3 separate regions of the Homo sapiens genome follow, and regions 1 and 3 are each linked to region 2. The links are contacts of gene promoters, found by promoter capture Hi-C in human tissues and cell types (Jung and others, 2019). All regions are on one chromosome and are shown on one strand. Each heading gives the region's core, a stretch centred on a gene start or on the middle of the fragment in contact. The rest is flanking DNA. Distances are from core to core; before and after follow the strand shown.

Evidence for each region. The method cuts DNA at HindIII sites, captures the fragments that hold promoters and counts their contacts. A contact is called where the count stands out against the background at its distance.
Region 1: a fragment that was not itself captured here is called in contact with the fragment with the promoter of SLC37A3 in region 2 in 1 of the 25 tissues and cell types used here (mesenchymal stem cells).
Region 3: a contact is called between a fragment that was not itself captured here and the fragment with the promoter of SLC37A3 in region 2, in 1 of the 25 tissues and cell types used here (mesenchymal stem cells).

Annotation. Positions count from the first base shown.
Region 1 is chr7:140,132,598-140,137,218 of GRCh38, forward strand. It overlaps KDM7A (lysine demethylase 7A), which reads right to left. Exons shown (of 20, transcript NM_030647.2): 3 at 942-1,059. Among named protein-coding and RNA genes, the nearest start is that of KDM7A, 42 kb to the right of the region's middle. The HindIII fragment of the contact is 3,729 bases long and covers 803-4,531 here.
Region 2 is chr7:140,397,280-140,401,414 of GRCh38, forward strand. SLC37A3 (solute carrier family 37 member 3) reads right to left here and starts at 1,251. Exons shown (of 15, transcript NM_207113.3): 1 at 1,137-1,251. RefSeq lists silencers at 789-1,058, 1,169-1,398. The HindIII fragment of the contact is 36,664 bases long and covers 1-4,135 here.
Region 3 is chr7:140,108,315-140,112,582 of GRCh38, forward strand. KDM7A (lysine demethylase 7A) reads right to left here. Exons shown (of 20, transcript NM_030647.2): 11 at 2,781-2,870. Among named protein-coding and RNA genes, the nearest start is that of PARP12, 47 kb to the left of the region's middle. The HindIII fragment of the contact is 4,968 bases long and covers 1-4,268 here.

The sequences.
Region 1 (4,621 bases), core at 1,417-3,916, 260 kb before region 2:
TTGGAAACTGATAAAAAAGAATATTTGCGAATAGGGTATTTAACACCACAAAAATCACGTGGAAACACTACATTTTAAATATGTGTTCTTTCTGTCTCTCAACAGACCTGAGGGAGCCAACAGTAGATACTTACCATTATATGTTTCTGCATAAGGATTAAGGGGCAGGGGGCTAGAGAGGAATTCTAAAGACTGAGGAGAAATAGCAGGGGTTTTATCGTTTCAGGATCTGAAATAATTCCATAATAAGCTGCATGTGATACTGTGATTTAAATTTAAATTGTGCTTCCCCTCTTTAACAAGCCTGACTATGATCTTGTGTAAAAGCCTATTAAGCATTATCACTTGAAATAGATGTCAGGCAGTGAGTAGGAAATGATCTAAATTAGCATGATTAAATGCTTTATAATGCTTTCCACTCTCTTTGAGCCAGACAACTCAAATATATTCCATTATTTTTTAAAAAATCAAAAAGCCCACCCCTGCAGTGGTTGTGTGTGCTTCTGGTGGATGTAGGGCAGAGATGCATATAAAAGCAATGGAGAAAAAGCAGAGTTGGGAAAACAAGAGAAGGTGAGGCAAAAGAAACAAAACAGGTAGCAGCTGCATATCATAAGGAACCAAGTACTGGGAACAACTCCCTCAGATTAGTGTATTTCAAACTTTTTGGACTGTGGCCCACACTTAAATGTTTTTACAGGGTGACCCAGTGTGCACATAGATGTAACAAAAGTTCCATGAAAATATGCTTACTTACTGCTATTTCTTGGAATGTACTGATACTTTTCTATTTCGTTAAGGAAGAAAAAAGGTGAAAAGCTGGCTGAGGACAATAATGGGTTGCAGCCTAAGTTTGAAAACATTGCCTTTATATAATGTCACTCTATGAGACGACATTCTTACATTCTTACATTTTCTTTTATCAGAGTAAGTTTCCATACCTTGGGAAGACTCGAGAGCGTAATTCCTTAATGAAAGTTCTAGTTCCAGCTTGCACTGGTTTGGAACCATCATCAATTTCTGTGTAGTCATGTCTGTGCCAGTTCCTCCTTTTTTTCACTGGATTTTTAAAAGATTAAAAAAAAATGATTTTGGTAACTGGTGATACTATGTGATTTCTAATCATTATATCCGACATAATCAGAAATAACAATTGTAAGTACATTAAAAACACTCAAGTTTTTAATGCATTTCCAGGCCTGAGAATTTTGCTTAATGTAATGCTGCAATTACAGACAATTAACTGTGGATTTTTAAAACCTACTCTTTTTATTTCAAAACATATAAAATTAAAGCAACAAATTCAAATCAGCAGATGGAGCCTTTTATAATGTCCACACTTATAGATACTATACAATTTCCAAATTATATACAATTATGATTTTCATCAGAACATTAGGTCCTAATATGATTATCCAGATAATCCAAATCGTCTTCTCAGGACAGGGCCTTTTATCTCACATTAGAAATCTATTCTAATAGCATCATTCCTTCCTCTTTCATGTGAAGACTTACTCCCTAAATAAGCACAGTTACACTGACATAAAGAAGAGCAGGTGACTGAGTCATAATTAAAGAAAGACGGGTAGCATGACAAAATACATAACTTCATCATTTATTCCAATGCTAAGACCCTGTAATTCTACAGCTCTGGAAGGCTATGACCTTGAGTAGTCACAGCAATCGAAATCAGAAGATTTGGATTTGATTCCTAGTTCAGCCAATAGCTTTCTCTGCAATCTTGGGCAGGTCACTTAACACCTATGGATCCAGATTCCTCAATGTAGGAATGAAGGGGTGGATTAAACTGCTAATTTTCAAACTGTGTGGAAGAACCCTTCACAAAGGGGAGATGGGGAAAAAGCCAAGGAATGATCTCTGGACCTCATTCCTCTTTCCAGCAGAGTGGCACTACCTACAGCTCTTGTGTGTTGTATCAATGTACAATTTCTGTTTTAAATCTTTTTTTTTTTTAAGCTTGAAAATTACTCTTAAGCCTAAAACCTCTATGATTCTGGAAAATGTACTGATATCTGCAATTTATTTAGAAACGCATCAAAAAAATAAGATGGGTAGACAGCAGAATAGTTACATGGATAGATATGTGTTAGAGCATGTAATGAAAATGTTAATAGTAGAATCTAGATGATAAGGCTTATAGGTGCTTGCTGTAAAATTCTTCCAATTTTTCCTATATGTTTGAACATTTTCACAATATGTTTTGGGGAAAACAACTTTATGATTCCAAGTTATTTTAAACCTTTTCCACCTTACAAAGATCACAGTAATACAACAACATTGGGTCCTCATGTCGATAAGAAGTCACAATAATTAACAGAGGTGGAAATCAGGCTTATTCAACTATCTAAGAGTCTAAAACAAGATTCCCAAGTAACTTATGGCAGCCAAATCTTCAATATGGAAGAGCGTAAGTCCCATTAAAAAAAAAAAAAAACAAACTCACAAAAATTTAGAATCACAAAGCAAACTTCCTAGGAAATTCCATTAAAACATCCTTTGCATGTTATTTTTTCTCATTTAAAATCACTCCTAAATTTGAGTGTATTTCATTCCAGATTTTTTCTACTATATATAGATACATAACTCCTTTTTTTTTTTTTTTTTGAGACAGAGTCTTGCCCTGTTGCCAGGCTGGAGTGCAGTGGCATGATCTCGGCTCATTGCAACCTCCGCCTCCCAGGTTCCAGCAATTCCCCTGCCTCAGCCTCCTGAGTAGCTGGACTACAGGGGTGTGCCACCACATTCGGCTAATTTTTTGTATTTTAGTAGAGATGGGGTTTCACCATGTTGGCCAGGATGGTCTCGATCTCCTGACCTTGTGATCCGCCCACCTTGGCCTCCCAAAGTGCTAGGATTACACGTGTGAGCCACTGCGCCCAGCCCATAACTCCATTTTATCTTCAATTGGGATCACAATGTTTATCCTGCTTATCTTTCTTATTATATAATGAGCATTTTCTTTTTATTAAATATTTAAAACAGACTACAATTTTAAGATGTAGATATACCATATTATAATCATTTTTTGATTCTTAAGCACTTAGTTCATTCTGAATCTTTCTTCAAAGTTGAAATTCATGTTTGTATATATTAATGTTTCCCTGATTAATTCCTCAGAATAAATTCTAAGAAATGCTAGAAAAAAGACCAACATTTTTAAGATAATTGCTACATATTACAAAACTGTCTCCAAAAAAGTGGTACTAGTAACTTACTTTCCTTACTAGTATTATATAAGAAGCGTATTTCATACCCCTGGGTTAACAATGGGCATCAGTACTTAAAAGAAAAAAAAAAAAAAGGCAGCCCATTTGATAGGTAAAGTATGATATTGCATTTTTAAGTTTTATTTCTTTTTTAAGACATGGTCTCCCTCTGTCACCCAGGCTGGAGTACAGTGGCGCAATCACAGTTCACTGCAGCCTCAAGCTCCTGGGCTCAAGCAATCCTCCTATCTCAGCAACCCCAGTAGTTAATTTTCATTTTTGCAGAAGAGATTAATCAGTGAAGTGCATCAGCTTTGGAATTAGACTGCTAGGGGTTCAAACTCCAGCTCTGCCAAATAGCTACATAAAAGGGCTAGCTAGATCATTTTTCTCATTTCTCACATGGAGTTGTTATAAATGTCAAAGAAGATAACATAGGTTAAGTACTTACTTACCTACTATAGTGCCTACCATGTAATAAGCTGCCAATCACTATCATTTCCTTTTAAATGTGCTGACTTGGAGGAGGTTAACAGAAGGATACAATTGTCCTGTTGGGCCAACATGCTAACCATAAAATCAGCCACTATGTAACAGCTGATTGAATTTCTTAAAGGAAGGAGGTCAGTGAAGGAATATTTTAGTAATGGTTAAAGGGAAAGGAGAAAATTTTGTGTTTGGATTGCATGTGCCTAAAGAAGACAGAGAATACATATTTAAGTTATTTGTGGGCTGTTTTTTGATACCTGCCCTCAAATAGAGTTCTTAATTCCCAGTAAGAGGGTAAAGTCTAAATTCACCATATGAAGTAGTTATTATACTGGCTAAATGGTATCAATAATAAGGACTCCTAGGGAATCTCTGAAACCAACAGGAAACCCAGGTAGCAAGTAAGACAGGCCTAAGAGGCCAGGCGCAGTGGCTCACGCCTGTAATCTCAGCACTTTGAGAGGCCGAGGCGAGACCAGCCTGGCCAACATGGTGAAACTCTGTCTCTACTGAAAATACAAAAATTAGCCAGGTGTGGTGGCACACAACCGTAATCCCAGCTACTCAGGAGGCTGAGGCAGGAGAATTGCTTGAACCTGTGAGGCGGAGGTTGCAGTGAGCCAAGACTGTGCCACTGCACTCCAGCCTGGGCGACAGCACAAGACTCCGTCTCAAAAAATAAAAAATAAATTAAAAAAAAAAAAAGAGAGAAGCTTAATAGCAGAGGGAAAGGGATCAAAAGGGATTAACCAAGTTGGGGATAGAAGGTGAGGAGTAGGGAAGGTGAGCCTTAAATCCAGATAGAACAGATGACTGGATCTTGGGTGTTTTCCCTGTAAGTACACAGAGTTGGACGTCTGACCAGAAGATAGTCAATGCCTGGTCTTATGTTCTTCAGGGATGAG
Region 2 (4,135 bases), core at 1-2,500:
GCCTCCCAGGTTCAAGCGATTCTCCTGCCTCAGCCTCCCGAGTAGCTGGGATTACAGGCATGCGCCACGACGCCCAGCTAATCTTTGTATTTTTAGTAGAGACGGGGTTTCACCATGTTGGCCAGGCTGGTCTTGAACTCCTGACCTCAAGGAATCCACAGGCCTCGGCCTCCCAAAGTGCTGGGATTACAGGCATGAGACACCGCGCCCAACCCGAAGCTCAATTTCCTCATGTATTAATTAAATGAGATAATTTATATGGAGTTCTTAGTATAGAGCCTAGTATCCAAGAAACATCAAACAAACTGAAAAGAAATCATTTAAGCACCAAAGCACTGAAGACATTCCCTTCAACAACTGTTATATATATTTATGTATGTATAAATTTGTGTAAAGGTAGAAATAAACCGGTGGACAAAAAGATAACAACTGAATGATTTTGCTCACCCCAGGAACCACTCCTCCCTATAAACTATAAACTTTTCAGTAAGAGTTACCACGAGATAGCCTACCATCTTACATTTCAAAAAAACACTAAAAACTCCGGGGACACATTCCCATTATCTCCTGTCAAAACTGAGAATAAACAGAACACACCCTGCGAAGAATAAGGAGGGAATGACGAATAATTTGACCAAATTCCTTGACTGAGTTCATGCTAGTTACCAGAAAACAAAACCAGTCACTCACTGAGACCACGCTTCTTCTCTGACCTCTATACATCCTTTCCAAAGAGCTTCCTTCCCCACCTACCTGAAAAGCATCCCCTCTCCCCTGGTCCGAACGACAAGCCCTTTTCTGATCAAGTCAGAATCTCCCAGACCCACGGCCGGAGGACAGGCGGGCGAGGAGCACAAAAGCCTCTGCCGCATGGATCGGGGCCGGGCCGCAGGGTCCCCCGGGGGTCCTTCTCCTCCCCATCCACCCCATCGCAGCCTCCCCGTGACGGCCGGGACCCCAGGCCCGGGCCCAGGGAGGAGAAGGAGGGGGCGAGCGGCCGACCCTGCCTGGGCGCCCCACCCAAGGGGGGCCGCCACCTACATCTCCCCACCGCCCTCCCGACCCGGGAAGCCCCTCGGATTGGACCCGCCCCCGCCCCAGCAGGTCTTCGGCCCCACGCATCACCGCTTGCGCACCCGAGATCCGCAGTGGTCGCCGCTCTCCAGCCCCGGCTCCGCTCGCCGGGTCAGCTTGGCTCCGCTGCCCGCCTCCCCCGCCGCCAGCTCACCCCTGGCGGTGCGACCAGGGTTTCCGGACGCCCACGTGACCCTCCCGTCGCGGGGCACGCTGGGAGTTGTAGTCCCGCCACGCGGCCTCACCTGCCGGCGCGGAGGAGGGCGAGGAGGGCGGAGGCTGGGAGCCCACAGAACTCTGCTGCTGCGGACCTGGCCAGTAATGTTAGCTGCAAAAGACGAGAGGTAGAGAGAAGAAATGATATGGGGAGAACTGGTGCATCCTTTTTTTTTTTTTTTTTTTTTTTTTTTCAAAAAAGCGGTATTCGGTCTTTGTTTTTATAAAAAGTAACGTGCTGCTAAGTGTGCTACTGACCGGCCTAAATTTTAGGTGTCTAATTAAATGCAGGCCGGGCACAGTGGGCTCACGCCTGTAATCCAACACTTTAGGAGGTCGAGAAGGGAGGATCACTTGAACCCAGTAGTTCAAGACCAGCCTTAGCAACATAGCCAGACCCCATCTCTACAAAAAATGTTAAAATTAGCCAGGAGTAGTGGCATGTGCCTGTGGTCCCTGCTACTGGGGCGACCGAGGTGCGAGGATCGCTTGAGCCCAAAAGTTTGAGGCTGGCAGCTGTGATTGCTCCACTGCACCAGCCTGGGCAACAGAACGAGACCCTGCCTCCAAAAAAAAAAAATCCAACACAAGTGTCTCACACCTGTAATCCTAACACTTTGGGAGGCCGAAGTAGGAGCATCATTTGAGAACAAGAGTTTGAGACCAGCCTGGGCAAGGTAGTGAGAGCCGCCCCCCATCCACCACCACCACCGCCGCCACCGTTTCTTAAATAAAGGGAAAAAATACAGACACTTGTTCGAATTTTAAAGAAAAAAAACTTCTCTTAATCCAGAAAATCTCCACAACAACCATTACATACCTGTTCTCAAGATAAACAATCACTAGTCTTCAAATAACAGAACTTGACAACACCTTTTGTCAAACATAGTTCCTCCTTACTTAATAGTAGTAATTGGGGAGACCACTCATGTTGGCTTTATCCAGAAGCAAAACAAACTTCGCATAACTTTTTGTTGTTGTTGTTCGTTTTTTAAACTTCGCATATCTTTTTGTTTGTTTGTTTTTTGTTTTTGAGACGGAGTCTTGCTCTGTTACCCAGGCTGGAGTGCAGTGGCGTGATCTCAGCTCACTGCAAGCTCCGCCTCCCGGGTTCAAGGGATTCTCCTGCCTCAGCCTCCCGAATAGCTGGGACTACAGGCGCCCGCCACCACGCCTGGCTAATTTTTTTGTATTTTTAGTAGAGACGGGGTTTCACCGTGTTAGCCAGGATGGTCTCGATCTCCTGACCTCGTGATCTGCCCTCCTTGGCCTCCCAAAGTTCTAGCATTACAGGTGTGAGCCACCGCAGCCGGCCAAAGTTCGCATATCTTTATAGCAGGAGGTAGTTTTACAAATTGGAGCAAGGCGCCCATACCCACTAATTTAGTCTCTTACCCTCATGTAGGAACTGGAAGATACAGGCACTAACTCACGTCTGAATTTCAAAAAGATGACCCCCAAGTCCTTGAGGATACATTTCTGAGTTGTGATACTGGCAAGAGGCTCATTTCGCCGTTATAAAGATTTGTGTACATTCGAAAAGGACAGAGAAAGAAATTTTGAAGGAACAGAGAGAAGGCTGAGAAGTCTCTTTATTTTCAGCAGAGGAATTAAGCCTGTTATTTTTCATTTTTATTTGCCCTTATACAGTGGTAGTTTTGTTTCTAGCCCTTATACAGTGGTAGTTTTGTCTCTAGGCATCCAAGGAGAAATATGATGTCAGGGTGAGCAAAAATAAATGAGCCAAATATGTTACTTTTATTTTTAAAAATATATTGTGAATCGTTTATTTTTCAGCCTAAAAAAGGTAGCAAATTCTGACACATACTACAACATAGACGAACCTTCAAAAACATTATGCTAAGTGAAATAAGTCAGACATAAAAGGACCAGTACAGTACAGTTCCACTTATATGAGGTAGCCAGAGTAGTGAAATTCATAGAGTCAGAAAGTAGCATGGTGGTTGCCCATGGCTGGAGGGAAGGGGAAATGAGAAATTGTTGTTTAATGGCTATGGAGTTTCCGTTTGGGATGCCAAAAAAGTCCTGGAGATGGATGGTGATGTTGGTTGCACAACAATGTATTTAATGCCATTGAATTGTACACTTAAAAACGGTTAAAATGGTAAATATATATACATAGAGTGAAATACATAGTTTTTTGTGTTATATTTACATATGGGTGTATACATATATATGTGTGTGTGTATACTTCAAGTATATAACCTGTGTCACCACCACTCAGGGCTAGAATGCCTTCTTAGCCATGTGGTGGTGTGTATCTTTAATCCCAGCTACTAGGGAGGTTGAGGTAGGAGGATCACTTCAGCCGCACCTTTGGAGGCTGCAGTGAGCTATGATCGTACCACTGTGCTCCAGCCTGGGTGACAGAGGGAGACCCAGTCTCTTAAAAAAGAAAAAACAGTGTATATATACACACACATTTATACATATGAATGCCTTCTTTCCTGTAGCCCAAGCTATGCTCTTTGTATTTATAGTGACCTTGGTGGAGAGGGTTGGGTGGTAGACAGAGGTAAGATCTCTCTCCCCTTGACTTCCAAAACCATCAGGATATTTAAATATTTGTAACATTTGTTTTCTACCTGTAGATGTTCTCCAAGTGCTCAGTGGGTCTGAGTCAGGTGACTTTTTTTTTAAACAGTAACCACCCCAGGTGCGGTGGCTCACCCCTATAATCCCAGCACTTTGGAAGGCCGAGGCAAGTGGATCACCTGAGGTCAGGAGTTCCAGACCAGCCTGGCCAACATAGTGAAACCCCATCTCTACTAAAAATACAAAAATTAGCTGGACGTGGTGGCGGGTGCCTGTAATCCCAACTACT
Region 3 (4,268 bases), core at 724-3,223, 290 kb before region 2:
GTTGCTGACGAGAAGCTGCGTTCCTCTGGAGGGGAAGAGGCACTCTGATTTTTGGAATTTTCAGCTTTTCTGCTCTGTTTTTTTCCCCATCTTTGTGGTTTTATCTACCTTTGGTCTTTGATGATGGTGACCTAGAGATGGGGTTTTGGTGTGGATGTCCTTTCTGTTTGTTTTCCTTCTAACAGTCAAGACCCCTCAGCTGCAGGTCTGTTGGAATTTGCTGGAGGTCCACTCCAGACCGTTTGCCTGGGTATCACCAGCGGAGGCTGCAAATATTGCAGAACAGCAAAGGTTGCTGCCTGATCCTTCCTCTGGAAGCTTCGTCTCAGAGGGGCACCCAGCTGTATGAGGTGTCAGTCGGCCCTTACTGGGAGGTGTCTCCCATTTAGGCTACCCAGGGGTCAGGGACCCACTTGAGGAGGCAGTCTGTCCGTTCTCAGATCTCAAGCTGTGTGCTGGGAGAACCACTACTCTCTTCAAAGCTGTCAGACAGGGACGTTTAAGTCTGCAGAAGTTTCTGCTGCCTTTTGTTCAGCTATGCCCTGCCCCCAGAGGTGGAGTCTACAGAGGCAGGCAGGCCTCCTTGAGCTGTGGTGGGCTCCACCCAGTTTGAGCTTCCTGGCTGCTTCATTTACCTACTCAAGCCTCAGCAATGGTGGATGCCCCTCCCCTAACCTCGCTGCCACCTTGCAGTTTGATCTCAGACTGCTGTGCTAGCAGTGACCAAGGCTCCGTGGGTGTGGGACCCTCGGAGCCAGCGCAGGATATAACGTCCTGATGTGCTGTTTGCTAAGACCATTGGAAAAGTGCAGTATTAAGGTGGGAGTGTCCTGATTTTCCAGGTACCGTCTGTCACGGCTTCCCTTAGCTAGGAAAGGGAACTCCCCGACCCCTTGCACTTCCTGGGACAGGCGATGCACCGCCCTGCTTTGGCTCACGCTCCGTGGGCTGCACCCACTGTCCAACAAGCCCCAGTGAGATGAACCCAGTACCTCAGTTGGAAATGCAGAAATGACCCATCTTCTGTGTCGCTCACGCTGGGAGCTGTAGACTGGAGCTGTTCTTATTTGGCCATCTTGGAATCCTCCCAGTCAGCATTTCCTTCTTTTATAAGGCTGAGTAGTATTCCACTGTGAGTATGTCCCACACTTTATCTATTCACCTGCTGATGGACACCTGGGTTGCTTGGTCTATCTTTTGGCTATTGTGGATAATGCTGCTATAAACGTAGGTGTACAAATACCTGTTTGAGTCCCTGCTATCAATTCTTTTAGGTATATAGCCAGGACTTCCAACTCTTCTAAATGGTTTTCCCTGTAGTTATTTGCCTCCAAATTACAAAATGATATGTTTATACTGTTTTCAGCTTCAGATATTACTGAATTCCTATCATGCAAGATGAAGTCTTAATCCTTACACACCTCTCTTAAACATGCACATACCTCCCTTTCCTTCAATATTCAGTAAATTGGACTTGGTAAAAATTATTGATAACCCAGCGCCACATAACATATTGTCATTACATTCCCTTATTCAATCACTAACTGATTCCCAAATTATCCACTAGAAGAATACAAACATTCAAACACATTTGGTAATCTAATAATTTTATATTTTTCTCTGGAGACATCCTTCCTGGATAGGATTGCCAGATAAAATAACAGACACCCACTTAAACTTGAATTTCAGGTCATAACAAATATGGATCCTTTCATTCTTCTGATCCATCCTGAACTGGCTGCTCTCTAGACCAGTTTAATTACTCTTCCAAGTGTATTTTACCACTTTAAATTTGTAATACTAATTTAGAGCTGACTGACACTCCCATTTAACTACTGTTTTACTTCCTAAAAGTAAAGATTTATAGTTTTTCTTCATATAGAATCATACCTTTCACAGTAAGTTTATTCTTCATGTTGGTTATCATGCATGAGATTTATATATGTATAAACTTACATATATATTTAAGATTAGATATATGACTTTTGATACTAAATCAATTTAAATGTGATTACTGTAACACTTTAAAAACAGAACGTATTTTTCTCCTCTATCTGAACACATTGAGAATTACACATTCTATCCATTGATATTAAAGCAAGCATTTTAGTATTTTGTAAATGTATACCTCTTTCCATTCTCCAAACACAGCCCTAATGTAAGCTGTTAAATCATCAGCTGGCCTCCATTCCTCCACCTAATTTCCTCTCAATTTAAGCTAGACACTAACAGAACAACCTTCTTGAAGAATTACTTTAAAACACCCTTTCTTAAACACCGAGAATAGCTCTCAATTAATAAATTAAAACATCTCATCAGATTTTATGAGCTTTTATTAAAGGGCATTTACCTAAGCATCTCCTTGCCCCACTCTACTGCTTATCATCCCTCTCTCCATCTCAGCTTCCCTAGCTTGACTCATTCACCTTACATTTCTTCTCTTGTTCTAATTACATAAACATGTATTCCTCTCTGGGTAGCTGAAATTAACTGTATCTGAAAGTTCTACTGTTTATACTCTGTATTTTTGATTTTTTTTAAGTATCCTAAACTAGTAACTGTTTCCTTATTACTTCATTAGAATTCATTAGAATACAATATTTAAATTTCTCTTAAGGACTTCAGAGGCCTGAAAACCTGAGAAACCTCCAAAGACTCAGCTCATTATATTTCTTCTAAGTGTGTAAGAGTTTTTAAATATTTGTAGAGAGTGGAATAGATCCATTTGCTTCTCAAAGCAGATAATAATCAAGCATTTACATGACAGTTTCCACTCTTACCTCTATTGCTCGAATTACTTTAGAAAGTTCTTTAATAAGGTGTCCAGGTCTAACATTGTCTGGAATTTCAAAGGCATGTTCAGATACAAGCTGTATTTGGATTAACAAAAATAAGAAAACCAAAGTTATTTACACTTTAATATGTAAAAACAAATTTACTAAACCAATTTTTGGATTCTCTAAACTGTTACAGACATCGCCAAATACTAGTAAGCCAGGTTTCAGAGTTCGTGTAGCTAGTATAATGCCTTCTAAGGAGATTCTCATTAACATACAAAATCCTCTTAGACTGTGTTAAAAACAGACTAGTCTCACAGTGAATTTTGCTTTACATTGAGTAGTAACCTTGTACTCTACTCCTCAAAGCCTACTGTAATTCTAACTACTACTACTAATTCGTAAAGTGACAAATTAAGCTTAACATTTAATTCATAATGCATAAGGATTTTTAAGGAGAACACAGACACTAACGTAATCCTAATTTCTCTTGGGAAATCTAATTTGAATAAATTTTTGTACTTTTTTTTCTTTTAATAGTCAAAAGCAAAATAGAAAAAAGATCCCATCAATAGGAAAGGGGAAGGCCGGGCGCAGTGACTCACGCCTGTAATCCCAACACTTTGGGAGGCCAAGGCTGGCAGATCACCTGAGGTCAGAAGTTTGAGCCCAGCCTGGCCAACATGGCAAAACCCCGTCTCTACTAAAAATACAAAACTAAGCCAGGCGTGGAATCCCAGCTACTCAGGAGGGTGAGGTAGGAGAATCACTTGAACCCAGGAAGTGGAGGTTGCAGTGAGCCGAGATTGTGCCACTACACTCTAGTCTGCACAACAGAGTGAGACTCTGTCTCAAAAAAAAAAAAAAAGCTCTAAAGGGAATTCTGATAAAGTCACAAATTTGAGAATCACACATCTAAAGCCTTCAGTAGGAAACAAATTATACAGTTTTGGCAACATATGCTTTGTTTTGTTTTTATCTTGTTAAACAGTTTTAAATTTGCTTATGGCTTTCCTTGTCACCTAGACAATAAGGTCTTTCACAGTGGAGGACATGATTTTTATTTTCCTGAATGCTTCCACACTGTTGTGCTCTAGCAGATATGTAGCAATGATAATACAGTAAAAAGGGAGTATAAAATCATTGAGGCAGTAACCTATTAATTACTGTCTCCCAGTATTTCTTAAGAGCAAGATTTTTATTTCAAGGGGACATTCAAGAAATTAATATGGACACAGCCAGGCACAGTGGCTCATGACTGTAATTCCAGGACTTTGGAAGGCCAAGACGGGTGGATCACCTGAGGTCAGGAGCTCAAGACCAGCCTGGCCAACATGGCGAAACCTCATTTCTACTAAAACATACAAAAATTAACTAGGCGTGGTGGTGCGTGCCTGTAGTCCCAACTACTCGGGAGGCTGAGGCAGGAGAATCACTTGAACCCAGGAGGCGTAGGTTGCAGCGAGCCGAGATCGCACCACTGCAATCCAG